Regions from separate parts of the Homo sapiens genome. Here regions 1 and 3 are each linked to region 2. Evidence: promoter capture Hi-C in 16 types of primary human blood cells and fetal thymus (Javierre and others, 2016). All regions are on one chromosome and are shown on one strand. The core of a region is centred on a gene start or on the middle of the fragment in contact, and the rest is flanking DNA. Distances in the headings are between cores, read along the strand shown. Region 1 has its middle 16 kb from the start of TMEM86A. Region 2 holds the start of TSG101 (tumor susceptibility 101). Region 3 holds the start of TMEM86A (transmembrane protein 86A).

Region 1 (3,679 bases), core at 133-2,632, 160 kb after region 2:
CCCTATTGTAATACATGAGTGTTATACACTCCCAAAGCCCCGTCTTCTCTGAATGGGAGGCAGGAAGCCAAGGAAAGGGTTGGGAGAGGGCCGAGGTAACACAAATCAAATAACTCTCCTGACCACTGCACAGGGTGCCTCAACCTCATTGCCTTTTGCTCCGCTTCTGGTCTGTTGGGAGGAATCCCCCTGAAGGCCTGGCAAGCTCTCGCTGTCCCTGCCCATTTTTCTGGTCTTGCGAGATTGTAGGAGAGCGAGGCAGGGTGGAGGAGGGAAGCTGAGGCCGTGGTCATTGTGTCAGCCTCTCCTGCCAGCTGGTGGGCTCCATGAAGACAGGGAAGGTCTTTGTTCATGTCTATGTCCCAGATACACCCTGGCCTGTTGTAAGTGGGTGATAAATACCAGTTACATTAATTATATAGATATATATTTTTGAGACGGAGTTTTGCTCTTGTTGCCCAGGCTGGAGTGCAATGGCGCAATCTCAGCTCACTGAAACCTCCGCCTCCTGGGTTCAAGCGATTCTCCTGCCTCAACTTCCTGAGTAGCTGGGATTACAGGTATGCACCACCATGTCCAGCTAATTTGTATTTTTAGTAGAGATGGGGTTTCGCCATGTTGATCAGGCTGGTCTCCAACTCCTGACCTCGGGTGATCTGCCCGCCTCGGCCTCCCAAAGTGCTGGGATTACAGGCATGAGCCACTGTGCCTGGCCTAGTAACATGAATTAATTATTATATCTGAGGGAGGCTAACTAGACGAAAGGTCTGGGGAGATGCGTGTCTGGGAAGATGGGGTCTCTGAGAGAAAGCGATAGGGAGGTCTGCTTTGCCCTGTTATCCCAAGACTGGTCCTCAGGCATTGATGCTGAGGACAGAATTATTAATTCAGGGTCCTGGGGCTTGGTGGGTGGGATCTTCTAGGTTTTTTTTTCTTTCCCTTAAAGACCATTCTCCTGCGCAATCCCCAGACACTTCTTTCTTATTTCTACTTCGTCCTACTAACTTCCCAACATGGAGGAAAAAGCAGCTCAACGGTGCACCCTCGAGAGCTTCAGGTCTGGATGGGGTGGGGGTAAAAGGGACTGGAGTCAGTGAGAGGGCTATACTCAGAGACCACAACACAAGGACTTCATAAAAACACTTGGACCTCACAGAGTTTGCAACTCTGAAACTTGGGTGTTGGTGGTCATCTAATCCCACACACCTCACTGAGAGGGATTTATCCTGGGGCATCCCTGGTATTGAACCCTGTTAGAAGACTCTTGGTTTGGCAGCTTTATAGTTAGAGAAATCCACTTGTGTCTCAAGGCCTGATGATGCCCCCATCAATATGTCAGAAGCATTTGAATCAGAGTGACTCCATCTTGAATAGAGGCTGGGTAAAATAAAGCTGAGACCTACTGGGCTGCATTCCCAGGAGGTCAGACATTCTTAGTCACAGGATGGGATAGGAGGTTGGCATGTCTGGTATCACAAGATACAGGTCACAAAAGCACTGCTTATAAAAGAGGATGCAGTAAAGAAGCCAGCCAAGGCTGGGTGTGATGGCTCATGCCTGTAATCCCAGTACTTTGGGAGGCCGAGGTGAGTGGATCACTTGAGGTCAGGAGTTCAAGACTAGCCTGGCCAACATGGTGAAGCCCTGTCTCTACTAAAAATACAAAATTTAGCTGGGTGTGGTGGCAGGCACCTGTAATCCCAGCTACTTGAGAGGCTGAGGTGGGGGAATCACTTGAACCCAGGAGGTGGAGGTTGCAGTGAATTGAGATCACACCACTGCACTCTAGCCTGGGCAACAGAGTGAGACTCCGTCTCAAAAACATATATATAAATAAAGAAAAATGAGGAAAAAAGAAGAAGCCAGCCAAAACCCACTAAGACCAAAGATGGTAATGAAAGTGGCCTCTGGTTGTCCTCACTGCTCATTATAGACCATTTATAATATATTAGCATGCTAAAAGACACGCCCATCGTGCCATGACAATTTACAAATGCTATGGTAATGTCAGGAAATTACCCTATATGGTCTAAAAGAAATTGCCTGCCCCTTTCCTAGAAAACTTATGAATAATCCACCCCTTGTTTAGCATATAATCAATAAATAACCATAAGTATTCTCAGCTGAGCAGCTCATGCTACTGCTCTGCCTATGGAATAGCCATTCCTTTATTTTTTTAACTTTCCTAATAAACTTGCTTTCACTTTACTCTATGGACTCGCCTGAAATTCTTTCTTGCATGAAGTCTAAGAACCCTCTCTTGGGGTCTGGATCAGGACCCCTTTCTGGTAACATCTTCCTGGCAAACCATGAAGGGACTATACTGAAGAGACCCTTGACACAAAGGAAAATTGTCTGCGCAGCACCGATTGTCCGACTTTGGGTGAGTGGTGCGGTTCATTTTACCTGGGTAAAAAATGGGATTGGGTTTGAGGCCCAACTTAGGAAGGTTAGAGTTTTTCCTAATATTTAAGGGGTTAGAGGTCCCCCTTGGTAAAGTCCCTCTTGGTTAAAAATGAATTTGGCACTGTGGGATGTTAACCGCTATTCTCATTGAACTAATCTTCCTTGTACTCTTTGCTGACTATGGTGGGTGTCAGAATTTGGCACATACAGGATCACTGGACATGAGGAGCTTTTTTCTCCCCAAAGGGGCACAGTTGACAACTGAAGGGACTGCTGGTAAAGATCCCTTCACGATGTGTTGCTGCAATGGGTGAGTCTTTCTCTGCTCTCCCCAATGTTCTTGCCTTCCCCACCCCATCGCAGGCAATGCTTTTCTGTCTCTCTCTCTCCTTTCCATTTCTTCCCACCTTTTCTGTCACCCAGGGCAACTGTCCACTCTTCCATCTTGCCCAGAGACCACGTGTTGAAACTCCTGGTTGGAGGTCATTCCACCCTACTTTGAGTGGATCAAACATGACAGGGCCCAACCTGGGGCAAGTTTGAGCCTTGCCAGTTTGATATTGGGTACTAAGCAGAGTGGCTAATGTCTAGGTTTTATCACATGTATTTTTCTTTTTCTTTTCTTTTTTTTTTTTTGAGATGGAGTTTCACTCTTGTCACCCAGGCTGGAGTGCAATGGCGCGATGTTGGCTCACTGCAACCTCTGCCTCCTGGGTTCAGGCAATTCTCCTGCCTCAGCCCCCATGATCCACCTACCTTGGCCTCCCAAAGTGCTGGGATTACAGGCGTGAGCCACTGTGCCGGGCCTGTCACACGTATTTTTCTCTGGCTGGAACAGAAAATGTAAATTGGTTACCCCATGCAACCCCTTGAGCAGCATCTTACAAAATTGAGAGGCTTTTTGCCAGTCATTCCATAAAATGGTAAAAGATGATTCTCCTTTGTAAGGTGGCTTGGCTCCCATAGCTATGGTGCAGCAAGCCGGGCCATCAAAGTCTAAGAGAAAAAGGGAACCCAGAAACCCGGCATCCTGGCAAAAGGGTAAGAATTTCTTACCAGTCAGACTTCTGGCCTCTCTATGCAAATCTGTTGAATAAATGATAAAAATCACTGTTTGTCTCTCTTGCAAGGGAATTGATTAATAAGAAAATGGATTTCTGGGGCTAGTCTTAAGCTGTAGTGAATCTGGTGTACTTTGTGCTATGAATTTGTCTTTGCCATCCTGTCATGAAAAGGTGTGCCATAGAATAAGATGTGGGCTTAAGACCTCTAT
Region 2 (3,643 bases), core at 519-3,018:
GCTAGGATTACAGGCGTAAGCCACTGCGCCCAGCCCAAGGACTAAATCTTAATGACTATGCTATCAATTTAAAGATCAAAAATGTCATGGAGGCCAGGTGTGGTGGCTCACGCCTGTATTCCCATCATTTTGGGAAGCCAAAGCGGTGGATCACTGAGGTCTGGAGTTTAAGACCAGCCTGGCCAACATGGTGAAATCCCGTCTCTACTAAAAATACAACAATCAGCTGTGTGAAGTGGTGGGCACCTGTAATCCCCAGCTACTTGGGAGGCTAAGGCAGGAGAATCGCTTGAACCTGGGAGGCGGAGATTGCAGTGAGCCAAGATCGTGCCACTGCACTCCAGCCTGGGTGACAGAGCAAGACTCTAAAAAAAAAAAAAAAAAAAAAAGAGTCATGGAACAGATACTCTTCAGTTACATACTATGTAAAACAATATACCGTTTTTTTCAAAAAGTGATATATAAAAGTTACAACATGGATCTTTACCTGGGTCACAATCTTCTATGGCTTCCCATATGTCTTCTATAACTAAGGATAACAAGTTTATCAAAACAAAACCAAGAAGCCTAAAATATACGATTACACAACCAATATATGCTTTATTTTGAAAGCTGTCATTTTCTCCTTAGAGATTATTTGGTCTTCAATCAAGAACTATGGGGGCGATTTAACTGGAAAAAGTCTGTTTTTAAAAAAGTTTTACACATAATAGTGTGTTTTATTAAAAATTGAAACCGCTTAAACCGCTGATTGCTACCATTCTTGCTTTGACAAAACTATCCCAAGCTAACACGTTGAACTGGTCAAGACTCAACTCTCAATCATTTTACATAGTTTTGGAAAATTACAACAAAACATAACAAAAGCCATTCCACTCTGGTGTGAGGTGCCACGTTTGAAGTAATTATATAAATAAATCATGGCTTTAAAATACAAAATGCTTAACTGCTTTTTTAAAAATTGAAAAAAAAAACACTAGTCTTGAGCCGTGAAGATCATAAATTAAGCTCAAAGCAAATAAATACGCGTTATAAGAAGCATACACTTAAAAGTAGTTACTCTTAGAAAATCCCTGAAATGGTAATGGTATGTATTTCACCTGGGGCAGTAAGGGACTGGTATTTTCGCTTCTTTTCTGGAGAATACAAAACTGAAAAGGCCACACTCTCTGCGGGTCGGCAAAAGAAAGGCTAAGACTGGAGGATCCCTAGATTGGGACAGGAGTAGAGGATTGCCTCAGATCTACAACTAAGTATGATCCCTTGTTTGTGTTTATAAAAACAAACGAAAAACTACACTGCCCCACAGACAGCTCCAAACTCAGTGGAAGAGAGGAGGGCGGGTGGGCGGCAGGTGTCAGGTAGCCTCCGCTCCACGCCTTTGTTGACTGTCGCCGTCCCCCACCCTCCCAGCTCCCGTACGGGGATTCCCGCACCAGGCGACAGGCGCCTCGGGGCGGGGTTCTGAGGAGGTCGCTAAGGACTGCACCGGGGCTTCCGGCCCGTCTGGGAAGCTTGCTTGGCTGGGCCGGGACGGACTCGACAGGGCGCGGAAGGGAGCGGTGGGCGCGCCCTGGGAGGCGAGCGCGTCGCAGCCTCACCTTGGACACCATTTTCTTGAGCTGGCTCTCCGACACCGCCATGACGGCCGCCTGGCGACTCCCTTCCCCGCAGGCAGAGGGTCAGCCGCTGCTGGGCTGCCCCAGACCGTCCCACACAATCGCACACCCCCAACCCGGCCTCAAACAACAGGAAGTCGGCACCACTACACCACTTCCGCTTCCACTACGTCACTTCCGGGCCGCCGTCCTGCGGGCAAGGGTGGACACCGTGTGGGATTGAGAGGGGCCTGGTGGGGTGGGTTCCAACCAACCCGCCCCTCGAGTGCCGGAATCAGCAGGACGAATCGGGTCCCAAAGATGTGGGCAAGACTGTTCCGAGGGTCGAAACTCTGGTTCAGGATAAGATTAGCAGGTATTTCACAGAGTCGACTTAAGGAAGCTAGTGCCGGAGAGGGAAGAAGTACGAAGGGCTTGCCAGTGAGCCTTAATGACTGATTGATCAAGTGGGAGGGCACTGCACTGGCGGTCAGAGAACTGTTCTGTCACTGACTTGCTCTTGTGATAATGGTAGGCTAGTGCATTTCTAGCTCAGGCGCAAATTTCTCCCGACTCTAAAGTCATACACTTGCCTTAGATGATGCCCAGTGGTCCTCTAATTAATGATTTTTTTTAAGCTTAAAGACCTTCATACTATACGTTGGCAAGGGTAAAGTGTAGAGCCTTTGTTTCACAAGAAGCCAGATAGTAATTTCTTCTCCAGGAAATCATTCCGTAAGTCAGAATTTCTCCTCTGTACCCACCCATAAATGATAATACAGGCCGTATTTTACCTGGTGCTGTATTTGTGTACCTGTCCGCTGTCAAAATCCAAGCCCTTGAAGGCAGGCTTCCTTCAGATCTTCATTGCCTTGCACAATGCAAGGGTAGGTACTTCCATCTTAATTGAATTTTTACTTCCCATAAAAATTCTTCATGGTGACTTACATTAGTCATCATTACACATCACCGTCAGTTTTGTAAGCACAGTGTCATTCAAGGTATTGTAAAATTTTGAGTTTGATGATGTGTGACAGTTTCAATTATTTTAGTACAGCCCTAATGAGAACAAGGCCGTAGTATTGATTCCCTTCAAAGTTGGCGTCTAAGTGAAGGTCACATTCACAAGGAGGGCCTAACTGAAAGCATGTGGAAGCATCATTATAAACTGTTGCTAACACGCACAAATAAAGGCTATTAATAGGTATTGTTTTTCTTTTTCTTTTTCTTTTTTTTTTTTTTTTGAGTCACTCTCACTCCATCGCCCAGGCTGGAGTGCAGTAGCACCATCTCGGCTCACTGCAACCTCCGCCTCTGTTTTTCAGCTCCTTAGTTAAGCATACAGCTCCAGTCAAACCAAACTAGAGGTCTGTCTGTCCTTCCATTTTACTTGCTGTTTTATGTCTTTTAAAAGCAAGAAGGTTTTCAAACTGTTCTTAAAGCCACGGCTTAACCAGGAGTCCCTTTAATTAGAGCAACTGTACCTTTGTGAGTTGGAGGAATGCCAGGTAATATATATTATTTATATATTTTATAAATGCAACATTTATAAATATTAAAATAAATTTTACATATATATATATATATATATATATATATATATATATTTTTTTTTTTTTTTTTTTTTTTTTTTTTTGAGACAGAGTTTTGCTCTTGCTTCCCAGGCTGGAGTGCGATAGTGTGATCTTGGCTCACTGCAACCTCTGCCTCCCGGGTTCAAGCGATTCTCCTGCCTAAGCCTCCCGAGTAGCTGGGATTACAGGTGCCCACCACCACACCCAGCTAATTTTTTGTATTTTTAGTAGAGACAGGATTTCACTATGTTGGCCAGGCTGGTCTGGAACTCTTGACCTCAGGTGATCCACCCGCCTCAGCCTGCCAGAATGTTGGGATTACAGGCGTAAGCCACTGCGCCCAGCCCATTTATATATTTTTGTTGCCCAGGTCATGGTGCAGTGATGTGAACATGGCCCACTGCAGCCTCGACCTCCCTGGCTCAAGTGATCCTCCTGCCTCAGCCTCCCATGTATATTGGGACCACATGC
Region 3 (3,381 bases), core at 112-2,611, 170 kb after region 2:
CTTCTAAGTGAGGAAATCAAGACCAGAGAGGGGAAGTGATTCACCCAATCTAACAGCATGGAAGTGGCAAAACTGGGACTAGATTTCAGTCCATCTGGCCACCTACCTCTCCATGTAATTCCAATGATTCTGAACATGCACCGCTCTGAATGAGCTTGTGTTCCTTTAGTCTACGTAAAATCAACATTAAATCCACTTGGGACGTATTTTTGGCAAAGTTAGCTCACGCTTCTTTGGGTCTGCCTGTCTGTCATTCTTGGGGTGCTCTTGTATGTGTGGCAGTGGTCTCTGAGTTGTAAGAGGTGTGTGCCTACGGCCAATTATCTGTGTTTGTTTCTATATTAGGGTCATGGGTCTACGAGCTGCTGTAGAGTCCCTGTATATGTCTCTTTTCTTACATGGAGCATATATGTCAATTTGTGGTTGTTGGTTTTGGATCTGTGTACTTGTTGAGTGCTTAAGGGTAATTATGATTCTGTATGTGTGATGTATATGCTACGATTATGGGTCCATGGCTGCTGCATACCTATATACGTGCCGCTTTTCAAGTCGAAGGTTGTGTGTTTGCTGATGATTTGGATGTGTGTTTGTACACAGTGAAGGTTGTGAGTCCAATTGCAATCGTATCGGCGTGGACTGCATGTTTAAAGGCTTAAGGGAATCTGTCTTTGCCTTTTGCTCCCGGGTTATGAGAAAATGTATGTGGCTGTGCGTCCAGGACAGCAATGTGTTTGTCTCTCAGCCAAGCTCAGTCCTCACCCAGGCACCGGGGTCACGGTCACGTTCACGTTCCGTGGACGCCTTGGCACGGCCTCCCAAGGGGGCGGGGCCTGGGGGGTATCCGCCTTCTGACCCCTGGGAGATGCCTCCTTTCTCCGAGCAGCAGCCGGGGGCCTGGCCGGCGCCGCCAGCCGGGCCCCGCCCCCCCGGCTCCCGCCCGCTCATTGGCCCTGGCAGCGGTGACGTCACGGGGCTAGCTGACAGAACCCCGGCGCCGGGCGCTCGGGAGGTATTGTCCGTCCCTCCGGGCTTTGTAGAATCGTCGCCGGCTTACCTGGCCGTGGGCGCGTCCTGGCCGCTGCAGCCCGGAGCAGGGTGCCAGCCGCCGCCGCCGCCGCCATGGTGTCCCCGGTCACTGTGGTGAGTGAGCGAGCGAGCGAGCCAGTGCCCGGCGCGGCTGGAGCCCACCGGCCTGGCCACCGGACTTCGGCAGGCCGAGCTGCCGAAGGGGCCGAGGCGGGGCGGGGGTCCCGTGGCGGCCGGAGTCCCGCGGCGGGAGGCGGGCGCTGTCACCGCCCCCCGCTCCTCAGACTCGCGGCGCCCCTCCTCGCGCGCCCCCAGCCCGCCCGCGGAGGGAGGAAAACACTGGCCACGTGACTCGGAAGCGTGACTTTGTTGATCTCCATGTATTTGGCGCGGGTCGGCGGGGTCGCGGCCCGGGAGAGGGAGGGGACCGCTGCCGGCCGCAGAGTTCCGCGTAGGCGGACCACAGGGAGGCGTGGGGGCGGGGGATGCTGGGAGGATAACAGGGACCTCCTGGGAATGCCGTCCCAAGTTTGTTTCCTAACCTTCCTCATTTTGTAAACAAGTTGGCGGACGCCCCTGAGTCTAAGAAGCGCTGATAACGCGCTGGGGGAAAAGGGGGCATTCTCTATGACATCCCCTGCTTTTCAGACTTTCTCAACTTGAACCTTTTGTTTCGTCTCCCCATCCTCCTTATTCTACTACTGGGTTCCCTATAACTGTCAGGGTCTCTCCAGCTACTGCCAGTATCTCCTTCTAGAAAATATGGGGCTGGGAGAGGCCATGGAGCGGAGGTTAATGCTCCCAGGGGCTGGCAGGTGGTTGCTGGGCATTGTGGGCCTGGGCATCCCCTCCAGCCGCCTCCTCTGACCATGCCCCTACCCTGACCAGCCTTAATTTCCATGGGAAGTGGAAGTCATCTCTTCTCACTGCTCTTACCTCTGGCAGAACAAGGAAAGGCTTGGACCCTGGAACCACCCATCCGCCTCTTCCCAATCCTCCTCATCACAGTCTGATCAGTCCTTAGGTACCTGGTCGTCTGGACTCTGAGTGTTTCCCAAGTCCTGTGCTGGGCAGCTCACCTAGCCAGAGACACAATCGCTTTGGGCAGAGTGTGGGTGTACAGGGAACTCCAGCTGCTCCATATCACCCTCAATGGATCTGTTAGCAGCCCAAGGAAAGGAGTTTCAAGGATCACAGATTCAGAACATCGCTGCAGCCCCCTCCCCCAGCTTGGACTCTGCCTGCAGTGGCCTTGGGTACAACCTTTCTTTAGCTGCCCTCTGCTAATCCGGCTGAGACCAAGTCAGCTGCTCTAACTTCCCCCTCTCAGTTCCCCATCTCCCAGCCTGTCTGCTGGCTCCAGATCAGAAGCTGGGAATAGAACCTCTCCCCCCTTTCCTGCCTCTTTCTGGTGTGGCTTGAGTTGCTCTTGTTCTCTGGGAAATGAGGCTGACTGACACACACCCTCCCTTCCCCCAATCCTTGAAATCTTTGGTGTTTGAAGGACAATTTTCTTGCTCCCAACTCATGGGTCCATTTATCTAGCCAGCATCCCTAGCATAGCCCTCCTTGCCCTTGATGCCACCTTCAGGCTGGGGCAGGTGGAGTGGAGGCTGAGGAACAGACTGGTTGAGGAGGAGAGAGGCTGTGGTGGCTGAGGTGATTGCCATTGCCTGCTTTCCCACATTCCTGGCACACACCTGGTGTTGCCAGGGCCCTAAGGCTGCACCCTGGCCCCATGCTGAGGATCACGAGTTGGCCAGTCAGGGTGTCTCTGTGGTTTCCCACTGACTTCACTCCATTCCAGAGTGAACAGCTGGGGGCTGTTGCTGGCAGAGAGGAGGGGCTAAAGGGGCCCTGAGGAGGGAGAAGGAGGGGGCAGGAAGGGAGAAGCACACTAGGCTGCAGAAGGGTGCCCCTCCTAATATACTGAGCCTCAGGGCAGTAATGGGTTTGGCCACAACCTGCTGGCTGGTAGAGGCAGGCCAGGCTGGGTTTCTCTGTGTCAGTCTTCTCAGGTTGGGGGTGGAAGTGAGGTGGGGGTATGGATGGGAGTGTCTCTGGGGTGGATGCCTAGGCTGAGGGTGCTGGCTTTCAACCCCCAAGTTCTGAGTGCTGCCCTTGTCCTGTGTCCTCCAGGTGAAGAGTGAAGGACCCAAACTGGTGCCGTTCTTCAAGGCCACCTGCGTGTATTTTGTGCTCTGGCTGCCCTCATCTAGCCCATCGTGGGTCAGCACCCTCATCAAGTGCCTGCCTATCTTCTGCCTCTGGCTCTTCCTTCTGGCCCATGGCCTGGGATTCCTGCTGGCCCACCCCAGCGCCACCCGCATCTTTGTGGGGCTTGTCTTCTCTGCT

The links. The method cuts DNA at HindIII sites, captures the fragments that hold promoters and counts their contacts. A CHiCAGO score of 5 or more calls a contact.
Region 1: a contact is called between a fragment that was not itself captured here and the fragment with the promoter of TSG101 in region 2, in 1 of 17 cell types (activated CD4 T cells). The highest score is 5.5, in activated CD4 T cells.
Region 3: a contact is called between a fragment that was not itself captured here and the fragment with the promoter of TSG101 in region 2, in 10 of 17 cell types (fetal thymus, activated CD4 T cells, non-activated CD4 T cells and 7 more). The highest score is 13.0, in fetal thymus.

What each region holds. Positions count from the first base shown.
Region 1 is chr11:18,680,693-18,684,371 of GRCh38, forward strand. No RefSeq gene overlaps it. Among named protein-coding and RNA genes, the nearest start is that of TMEM86A, 16 kb to the right of the region's middle. The HindIII fragment of the contact is 4,681 bases long and covers 1-3,679 here.
Region 2 is chr11:18,525,174-18,528,816 of GRCh38, forward strand. It overlaps TSG101 (tumor susceptibility 101), which reads right to left and starts at 1,769. Exons shown (of 10, transcript NM_006292.4): 1 at 1,602-1,769. The coding sequence starts at 1,643. RefSeq lists an enhancer at 1,929-2,038. The HindIII fragment of the contact is 722 bases long and covers 1,513-2,234 here.
Region 3 is chr11:18,697,768-18,701,148 of GRCh38, forward strand. It overlaps TMEM86A (transmembrane protein 86A), which reads left to right and starts at 1,012. Exons shown (of 3, transcript NM_153347.3): 1 at 1,012-1,140; 2 at 3,166-3,381. The coding sequence starts at 1,120. RefSeq lists an enhancer at 719-1,220 and a silencer at 814-1,123. The HindIII fragment of the contact is 4,812 bases long and covers 1-3,381 here.